Regions from separate parts of the Homo sapiens genome. Here region 2 is linked to region 1. The links are contacts of gene promoters, found by promoter capture Hi-C in human tissues and cell types (Jung and others, 2019). All regions are on one chromosome and are shown on one strand. Each heading gives the region's core, a stretch centred on a gene start or on the middle of the fragment in contact. The rest is flanking DNA. Distances are from core to core; before and after follow the strand shown.

Evidence for each region. Contacts are between HindIII fragments. The study calls those that stand out against the background at their distance.
Region 2: a contact is called between a fragment that was not itself captured here and the fragment with the promoter of NSL1 in region 1, in 1 of the 25 tissues and cell types used here (aorta).

The regions. Positions count from the first base shown.
Region 1 is chr1:212,790,296-212,795,425 of GRCh38, reverse strand. It overlaps NSL1 (NSL1 component of MIS12 kinetochore complex), which reads left to right and starts at 3,649. Exons shown (of 6, transcript NM_015471.4): 1 at 3,649-3,896. The coding sequence starts at 3,663. TATDN3 (TatD DNase domain containing 3) reads right to left here and starts at 3,532. Exons shown (of 10, transcript NM_001042552.3): 1 at 3,439-3,532; 2 at 299-331. The coding sequence starts at 3,504. RefSeq lists enhancers at 471-520, 861-930, 809-1,309, 3,444-3,723, 4,198-4,976. The HindIII fragment of the contact is 11,895 bases long and covers 1-5,015 here.
Region 2 is chr1:212,646,412-212,651,349 of GRCh38, reverse strand. The region is part of intron 2 of LINC02773 (long intergenic non-protein coding RNA 2773); the gene reads left to right. It also overlaps the pseudogene RFKP5. Among named protein-coding and RNA genes, the nearest start is that of LINC02773, 17 kb to the left of the region's middle. RefSeq lists an enhancer at 4,578-4,938. The HindIII fragment of the contact is 4,490 bases long and covers 110-4,599 here.

The DNA.
Region 1 (5,130 bases), core at 2,400-4,899:
AGTGACGTGTGCCTATAGTCCCAGCTACTCAGGAGGCTGAGGCAGGAGAATCACTTGAACCTTGGAGGCAGAGGTTGCAGTGAGCTAAGATCACACGACTGCACTCCAGCCTGGGCGACAGAGCGAGACTCTGTCTCAATAAATAAATAAATAAATAAATAAAATAATAAAAATAAAAAATGCTACTTACTATAAACTACTGAAACATCAAGGTAGTATATCTAAATTTCAAGCTGTTTTGGCTTGAAATGATAGTTAAAATAAAAAACCAAAAGAGCAATTACAAATATTGACTTACCTTCTTGGCTTTCTCCAACACATCATCCAAATCCTAAAACAAGCATAAGAAATCACCATTATTTTAGATGAATAAGCAGCTAATCTTGGACTGTATATGTCAATGTAGTTGTGGCATCACAAAAAATAACAATGATAGCAACTAATGGAGTGGTGGAAAACAAAGAGCCTACACTGACCCACTTCCTGTTTACTCTTACTATCAGTAAAGTCTGGCTACTGTTCCCAGCACTAAAACAGAAGCCTCTATTGTCAAATATACAGGGTATTTCTCTGTCCTCATCTTACTCTACTCCTCAGCAGCATTCGGAATCCCTCACTTGCTTACTCCTTCCTTCTTGAAATGCTTTCCACCCTTCACTTCTGCAATACCACTCTCTCATTGGTGGCTACTTGTCAGTCTCCTTGACTAGCTCCCCTTCCTCTTTCAGACTTCAAGAACATCTGCTCCTCTCTCTGCACTTGCCTTGAGTGATTTCACTTCCTCTCATGGTTTTATCATCATTATGCTGAGGCCCCCATTTTTTTTCTTTTTTTTGAGATGAAGTTTCACTCTTGTCTCCCAGCTGTAGTGCAATGGTGCGATCTCGGCTCATTGCCACCTCTGCCACCCGGGTTCAAGTGATTCTCCTGCTTCAGCCTCCAGAGTAGCTGGGATTACAGGTGACCGCCACCACACTCAGCTAAATTTTGTATTTTTAGTAGAGATGGTGTTTCACCATGTTGGCCAAGCTGGTCTTTAACTCCTGATCTCAGGTGACCCACCCACCTTGGCCTCCCAAAGTGCTGGGACTACAGGTGTGAGCCATCGAACCCAGCCTGAGTCCCCAATTTTTTTTTTTTTTTTTGAGATGGAGTCTCGCTCTGTCACCCAGGCTGGAGTGCAGTGTCACGATCTCGGCTCACTGCAAGCTCCGCCTCCCGGGTTCACACCATTCTCCTGCCTCAGCCTCCCAAGTAGCTGGGACTACAGGCACATGCTGCCATGCCCAGCTAATTTTTTTGTACTTTTAGTAGCGACAGGGTTTCACCATGTTAGCCAGGATGGTCTCGATCTCCTAACCTTATGATCTGCCCACCTCGGCCTCCCAAAGTGCTGAGATTACAGGCATGAGCCACTGCGCCCGGCCCCCAATTTTTATCTTTAGCTTGTAATTCTCTCCTGAGCCCATGACTCATGTTTAAAAATTATGACATCTTCATTTGGATGGGATTAGGTTTCCCAATATGCCCCAAACATAAATCTTTATTTTCTCCCCACAAACCTATTCCTTCTGCTGACCTCCCCACCTCCACCTCAGACCTTGGTCTTCCCTTATCTCAGTAAACCAGCACCACCATCTTCCCTATAGCACAAGCTAATAATCTGAGTCATCCTTGACTCCTCCCTTTCCCTTGCTATCCACATCCAATTCTTCAGTACTTACTGTGGATTCTCTCTCTAAAATGTATCTTGAATCCATGTATTCATCTCAAACTCACCTGCTATCATCATAGTACCAACAGCCAACATCTCTTGCCTATATACTGCAAAAGCCTCCTAACTAGTCTTGTAGCTTCCACTCTTCTCCTCCACCCATTTGCCATACAGCAGCAAAATGGTGTTAAAATGGATAGCATCATGCCTATCCATTTTTGTGTAATCCCAGGACTTTGGGAGGCCAAGGAGGGTTGATCACTTGAGGCCAGAAGTTCAAGACCAGCCTGGACAACATGGCAAAACTCTGTCTCTATTAAAAATACAAAAAATTAGCCAGGCGTGGTGGGACACACCTGTGATCCCAGCTACTTGGGAGGCTGAGACAGGAGAATTTTTTGAGCCCAGGAGGTGGAGGTTGCAATGACCTGAGATCATGCTATTGCATTTCAGCCTGAGGGACACAGCCAGACTCAATCTAAAAAAATAAAAAAATGAAAATAAATTTTAAAAAAGCCCTTTAATGAATCTGCATTGTGCTTCAAATGCAATCCAAATTCCTTACTGACCCACCTCATCTATCCCCTGCAAACCTCCCCAGTTTTGTTTCATGCCTTTCTCTTTCTAGCTCATCAGGCTCCACTTAGCTTTTTGGCAACTGAAATGTGCCAAATTCTAGCTTGTCTGGGGGCCTGCAACCTATCTGTTTCCCTAACCAGCATACACTCACCCCCTTGCTTGGGTGGCTCCTTGTCTTTTCAGCCTTAAGTGTCAGCTCCTGGGAGGATTTCCCCCTGAAATAAAACCCCCCTTAATCCTCTATTATTAGTCTCTAGTTTCCCACGTAATGGGTAAAACAGTTTGTAACTGATTTTACGTGTGTATTATTATTTTAATTGAGACGGGGTCTCACCACATTGCCCAGGCTGGTCTCAAACTCCTGGGCTCAAGCGATCCACCCACTTCGGCCTCTCATAGTGCTAGGATTACAAGTGTGAGCAACCACACTCGGCCATGTATTTTTGTTTGTTTGTTTGCCTCTCTCCCCCATTTGTGAATTTTTTTTTTTTTTTTTTTTTGAGACAGGGTCTCACTGTTACCCAGGCTGGAGTGCAGTGGCTTGATGTCAGCTCACTGCAACCTCCACCTCCTGGGCTCCAGCGATTCTCCCACCTCAGCCTCCCGAGTAGCTGGGACCACAGGCAAACGCCACAATCACCGGCTTTTTTTTTTTTTTTGTAGGGACGAGGTTTCACCATGTTGCCCAGGCTGGTCACGATCTCCTGGACACAGGAGATGCGCAGCGCCCGCCTCGGCCTCCCAAAGTGCTGGGATTACGGGCGTGAGCCCGCGCCCGACCTCTCCCCGATTTGAACGCGTTTCGAGGACCGCTTCCCACAAAGAGTGGCATCTCAGCCAGGAGGTGAGAGCCCCGAGGGGAAAAACAGGCCAGCCAAGGGGAGTGAGGGAACGATTCCAGGAACTCAGAAGAGCAAACAAAAGCCTTGTGGAGATAGCTTACCGCTACTGAATCAGGAAAAAAAAATCGGTATGTCTGAGGTTAAATAGGGAATAGGGAAATGAGGGGCAAGGTCATATGGCCATAAACAAGGGTCTGGGCGGGGGATATGGGGTTTCGTCCCAAGGGAGGAGAGCAAAGATAACACGAGGGGAAAGGACGGGGGCCTCCCTGCTCCCTCTGGTCCCGTATCGCCCTCACATACGCGGTCAAAGTCCGGGGCGGAGAGGTGGCAGTGACAGTCCACCAAGCCTACGCCAGCCGCTCGCATTGCGCCCCGGCGGCTGCCGCTTTAGACCGGCCAGCAGAGCCGGAGCCGGAACGTTTCAGCTGCAGCGTCCTGAGTTTCCAGCCGGATGCATGCTGGTTACACCAGTGTGAACCCGCTTTTCCGCTCCCAGAGTGCCCCGCCCACAGTTCCGACGAAAAATGGCGGGGTCTCCTGAGTTGGTGGTCCTTGACCCTCCATGGGACAAGGAGCTCGCGGCTGGCACAGAGAGCCAGGCCTTGGTCTCCGCCACTCCCCGAGAAGACTTTCGGGTGCGCTGCACCTCGAAGCGGGCTGTGACCGAAATGCTACAACTGTGCGGCCGCTTCGTGCAAAAGCTCGGGGACGCTCTGCCGGAGGAGATTCGGGAGCCCGCTCTGCGAGATGCGCAGTGGGTACGGGACCAGTTAGCCAGTTCTTTACTCATCATCCTCTTACCCAACACCCAGGATCTTAGGATTCAGAAAGATCCCACGCCAGGCCTTGGCAGAATTAACGGTGCCCCAGGCTACTGTAGAACCAGTTCGAGAAACGCTAGAGGAGAAAGAAATAGATGCTAATGTCAGCTGGGTCTTATTAATTACTTAGACCAGCGCTGTCCAGTGAAAATACAAGGCAAGCTAATCTTTATGTAGTTTTAAACTAAAAGTAAGAAATAGGTGAAGTTAATGGAAATAAGACATTTTGTTTAACCCAATAAATCCAAGGTATTTTAACATGTAATAATATCAAATGAATGAGATATTTTACATTCTTTTGTTCGTACTAAGCTTTTCAAATCTGGTGTGCTGCATTTACGGCACATCTTCGAACTAGTTACATTTAAGCGCTCAGTAACTACAAAGTGGCTAGTGGCTCACCTGTTGGACAATGCAGCCGCAGACAATGAGGAATTCTCCTGGAAAGGGTAATTCTGGAAGTCAGCCATTCACCCAAGCAGCATTTGATCTTTCCTTTTGCATGTTTTATTTATTTATTTATTTTATTTTATTTTTTTTTTTTGAGACAGAGTCTCGCTCTGTCGCCCAGGCTGGAGTGCAGTGGCGCGATCTCGGCTCACTGCAAGCTCCGCCTCCTGGGTTCACGCCATTCTCCTGCCTCAGCCTCCTGAGTAGCTGGGACTCCAGGCGCCTGCCACCACGCCCGGCTAATTTTTTTGTGTTTTTAGTAGAGACAGGGTTTCACCGTGTTAGCCAGCATGGTCTCGATCTCCTGACCTCGTGATCCGCCCGCCTTGGGCTCCCAAAGTGCTGGTATTACAGGCGTGAGCCACCTCGCCCGGCCTATTAACCTTTATTTTTACTGTTTGCACTGTGGTCATTCATAACTCACAAATGTGCGGTATTATGAGCTTTTAAATTTTTTCCGCTAATATAAGTAGATTGGTGCCTGTTATAAGGAAGCACACAATCCCTTTATTTCTTGTGTTCCCAAAAAACTACCACCTTCAGGGCTTTGCAAAAATATTTAAGAAAGGCTTGGGAAATGTGGTATAGAGGCAAATGTATGATCTTAGTAAAGTTTTCAACCAACACAATTTTTTTTAACCTATTTTAGTCTTGTAAAGAAAATGTTTTCACTCTAAAACAGGCAAAAGGGGTCGGGCGCGGTGGCTCACGCCTGTAATCC
Region 2 (4,938 bases), core at 1,105-3,604, 140 kb after region 1:
TATTAACAGCTGGGTAAGTTTACTTTGATTATAATGTGAGTATCTATGTCCACCAACTTTGTAGTGTGGTTAGTTGTTCACAATTTTAAGAAATTGTAAGAATAGAGTTGTTAAAGAAAAAAAAAGACTTAGAAGGAACATTTAAAAAAATTACTTAGTCTCAGAGATTGCCAGCTGGATACATCACACCTGAGTGAAGCTGTGGAAAGGCTCCGAGACACCAGAGCTGGAAACAATGCCCTCAGCTCCCGAACACGCTTGCGAGTCCCTGGAGGATCTGAGGTTCCTTTTTAAGCAGAAAGATAAGTAATGCCTTTTCACCTCAAAGTAAGGCCATTAAGCTCCAGATCATCCTCAATAAGGGACACCATCCTCTCAATATTCAATAATCACCTTCTACAGGGGCCTCTAGACTGCCCATTGTGGGATATGACAGAGGCAAAATCCTGCTTCTGTCTTCTTTGGACCTGGTTCGATACCACTTTCAGCAACTCATGGAGCCAACTCAGCCTAGACAGTGAGAGGCTAAGACTCACAGAACCACCACCGCCCCTCTGTCAGCAGGAAACAGTTACAGAAGACTGACCTTCATCCACTTTCCACCAAAGATTTGGGGTCTTGGACTCTTAAGGCAGGGGTAAATGTTACAGTAGGTAGCTAGTCAGGTATGAGCAGGGCAGGAGAGGGCTCCCTACCACACACACACCAGAAATGTTGGGCAACCATCAGGTGATGGCCAGGCGGTTGTTAACAGTTTGTTTAAAGTAATAATTAGTCACAGCTGGTGCCAGGGAAAGGTAGGCTCCTAATAGATAGAAAACACCTGAAACTGATCAGCAGCTTCCCAATAAGATCCTGGAAGTATGCCAACAAATAAAACCCCAAGTCAAGATGTTAAGCTGTGCACTTGGTTTCTCGAGTCGCCTGCTTGGCCCTCTTCCAAGTTGCATTTTCCTTCTTTCCTTTCCTTTTTTTCCTTACTGGCCTAAAGCTTTTAAAATAAACTTCCACTCCTGCTCTGAAAAAAAAAATTACTTAGTCAAAATTTATTTCAAGGCCTGAAAACATTCAGACTAATCAAAATGGCACTACTGTAACTTTTTTTTTTCCTTCTTTTTTTTTTTTTTGAGACAGAGTCTCGCTCTGTTGCCCAGGCTGGAGTACAGTGGCTTGATCTCGGCTCACTGCAACCTCTGCCTCCTGGGTTCAAGTGATTCTCCTGCCTCAGCCTCCTGAGTAGCTGGGATTATAGGCGCACGCCACCACGCCTGGCTAATTTTTTGTATTTTTAGTAGAGACGGGGTTTCACTGTGTTAGCCAGGATGGTCTCGATGTCCTGACCTCGTGATCCACCTGCGTCGGCCTCCCAAAATGCTGGGATTACAGGCGTGGGCCATCGCGCCCGGCCTTGTAACTTCTTATAATAGTTAATATAAAACTTTGAAAAATGTAGATACAGTTAACTAACCTCTACGCACCATACCATCCATCTTAAAAGCAATGGCTATTTAACAAAATGTAAGGTGGCTATAAAGTATAAAAGAACATTCACACACTTAAAGAGAACATAATTAACAGCAAGCTAGTCAGACAAACAAACACAAATATTTTCACATTTTCTATGTTTGTTTTTAACTTTGCTTCATGAAGCCACTTATAATTGAGGCTTCTTTCAAGTACAGGATTTCTAATATGAAAAATAGTATTTTCTACATAGCTCTATAAAGAAATGAAAAGCCACAAGCTGCATTGTTTGCCATAAATTCATACACCAAAGAGTAAAACACAATCCAACTAAATTTATACATGTTTCCCTCTTCTCCAACAACTGCTTCAGATGTTTTTCTATGTACTTTCAAAATATTTTTATTAAAGTCAGTTCAAATTCATTTATGCAGATTAGGAAAAAATGATCCATAGTGAATTATTTTTAAAATTACCTTCTGTATACTTCTATCCCTCCACCAAACCAACCACCAAATCTATTGCTAAAGTGAACTATAATGCAATATACTGTTTGAAGGGGCCCAACGCAATCTGTAATCTTAATTTCCTAAATATCCAAAGATTTCAACATTCTGCCAATATCAACAAAAAGACTCAAGTGGCCAAAAATCACAGTCAGTAGGAGGAAAAAATCTACAGTATGAAGATTGTTTAACAAAATCTGTGCCTTTCTCTCAAGCTACAAGCATTCTTAGACTAGCATTAAATTACATTGTGTGTATACAACTACGTCAGTTTAGATTTGTCCTGGAACATATAGTTACATTAAGAATAAATAATTTTCTAAGTATTTTATAGTTTAATTGGCTTTAAATAGTTAGGCTAGAGGGAAAACAAGCATTTTATGTGTGTGTTTTTTTAAGAAACTGGTACATATAAACTAATGGCTATGTGTTCACTTAAATCTTGAGGAAACCTAAAGATGAAGTCTGTTGTGTCTTTGTTTTTCCTAAAAAAGGAAAAAAATCAAAGTCAAGAAAAATGTTAAAGTCTTATAGATATCTACAAGAATATCTACTCTGAAGAAGAAAGAAGTGTTATCCAACAAAAAGGAGAACCTATAGATTCAAAAAACATCTATCTTACTGTCTTAACAACAATAAAGATATGCAGAGGGAGTCTAGACCACTTAGAACCGAAGCAGCTCTATACAAAAATGAAAATGGTGCAATGATGTGACTGCCCAGATAATGACTAAAGGCCAGGTGCAGTGGCTCAGGCCTGTAATCCTGGCATTTTAAGAGGCTGAGGCAGGAGGATTGCTTCAGCCAAGAGTTTGAGACCAGCCTAGGCAACGTAGGGAGACCTTGTCTCTACAAAAATATTTTAAAATTGAGCTGAGCACGGTGGCTCACCCTGTAGTCCCAACTACTCAGGAGGCTGAGGTGAGAGAATTGCTTGAGCCCAGGAGGTCAAGGCTGCAATAGACCTTGATCACCATTGTATTCCAACCTGGGTGACAGGGCAAGACCCTGTCTCAAAAAAATAAACAAATAAATAAAAATAAAAATAAATAAATAAATAGAAAGAAAAAAGAAAATGACAAAAAAAGTTTCACAAATGTCTTCATGCTTATAATAATATATTAATGCATCATATATCACAAATACAAAGTCTGGAGTTTTCCCCTTAGGTTTATAATAAACTATACAACTCCTATTTAATGTATTTACTTTTATAAGCCTTCTCTGTTTAGGACTATATGCTATGCAAGTACATACATGAAGGTTTTTGCCATGAGAACTATAGTTCTCATCTCAAATTAGTGGCTTGCCTTTTAACCCATACTTATATACATTTCATTTCCATTATAAGACACTTAATACCCTTCTAGTGGTACATTCTAATCAACATATTTTGAAAATCTTTATTTTTAGATAAAGCTTTTTATGTATTTAAATAAATAAAACCTGTTAACAATTTAACAATTGAAGCACAATATAGTAACTGTGTTGTTTTGTTTAAACTAGTTCACAGCTGTGGGAAAATGTTTGATTTTAAGACTATAACCAAGGTGAGACTGGACAGTTGTAAGCAGTGAAATACTAGAATACAGTGAATGAATAAATAAGATTTTTTTTTTAATCAGTGGCCGTTCATTATTTTGCTTTTAGGAACCTGGAAGAAATGGTCTTCTTTAAGTTTCAAATGTTCTGGTAAATGTAGGCGTTTCTTAGCTTCCTTAATATCACCTTGAATTGCCGAAATAAGTGACTCTAAAGAAGCAAAGTTCTTTCGGGTCTGAGGTAGCCAAGGATGGCCACATTGAAGATCTCGCCACGCAAGTCGTTTTTGAAGATACCCATGATATACGTTTCCATGGACTTCTTTGTTTTCTTAGAGTATGAGTTCCATCCTGTCCTCATAATCATCTTATAGACATCTCCACTTCCAGCACTGGCCCGACCATAATAAATGCCAGTGCACTCATCAGCTGGAAGAGTACTACTTGTTCAGGGAAGTTCGCTGTGGCCATGCCCAGTGCTTGGATCCACAGCTCCTGGCCTGGGCAGAAATAGAGCAGGTGCCTCAGAATGCAGTCCATTCGCTTGGGGCACGGGCTGTGGCCCAGTCCATGCATTGCCCAGACCCCCGCACAAGGGGGTCCTGGGGGACGGGGTGTGAACTCTGTGCTGGGGCAAATGCCCACGACACGTGGTGGTGGGTCCCTCACGCCGCCGACCCCAGGAATAGTTTCTGAGGCAGATGGACTAGGGAGGACTGTGACCTGCACCTGCTTCTCCCACACCCTTCTCTGATGGGGTCCCCCAGGGATGACACTGATGGGAGCAGAGGCTTCTCACGGATGATTTGGGGATGATTTGGATGGGGAAGGCAGAGAAAAGAAACAGGTGGTCTTGGATTATGCAAGTTCTACCGTATTGATGCAAAACTTTGATTCGTCCGCACCACCTCCATTTAAACTGAATCAAACACGTGTTCGCACAGCATCAGTTTCACCATGCTGAGGCCCCGGACCCAGGTGGGGGCGAGGTTTGCCTAAGCACGCTGCAAGACCGCGCACAGCCAGCGATGTGCATGCGCACACCCGCACCTGCACATGCGCACACAGCCCAAACACTTGCAGTCGCACAGTGCTGCCTCTGGACCGACAGACTGCGATGGGAAGTAAAGTGAGACCAGAGCCAGGTGCCAGGCCAGTGAAAGTCCTGAACTGGCTGCTCCTGGCTCCAGAGAGGGCAGATTCAATAGGGTATGTTGACGTGAATGCCTGGATTTTAATCCGTGCTAAGTGACCTCTTTAATGGAGGTTTCAGGGTAAGGTTCAATCCTTACACTTCATGTCAGCCCTGGCTCCCACCCCGGCCATCATCTTAGGACATGTTACATTTCAGATATTTAAGTTCTTCCCCTTGGTGCAAACAAACCCAGCAATGGTGGTTATTGCCTCATCTAAAAAGAAACATTCTC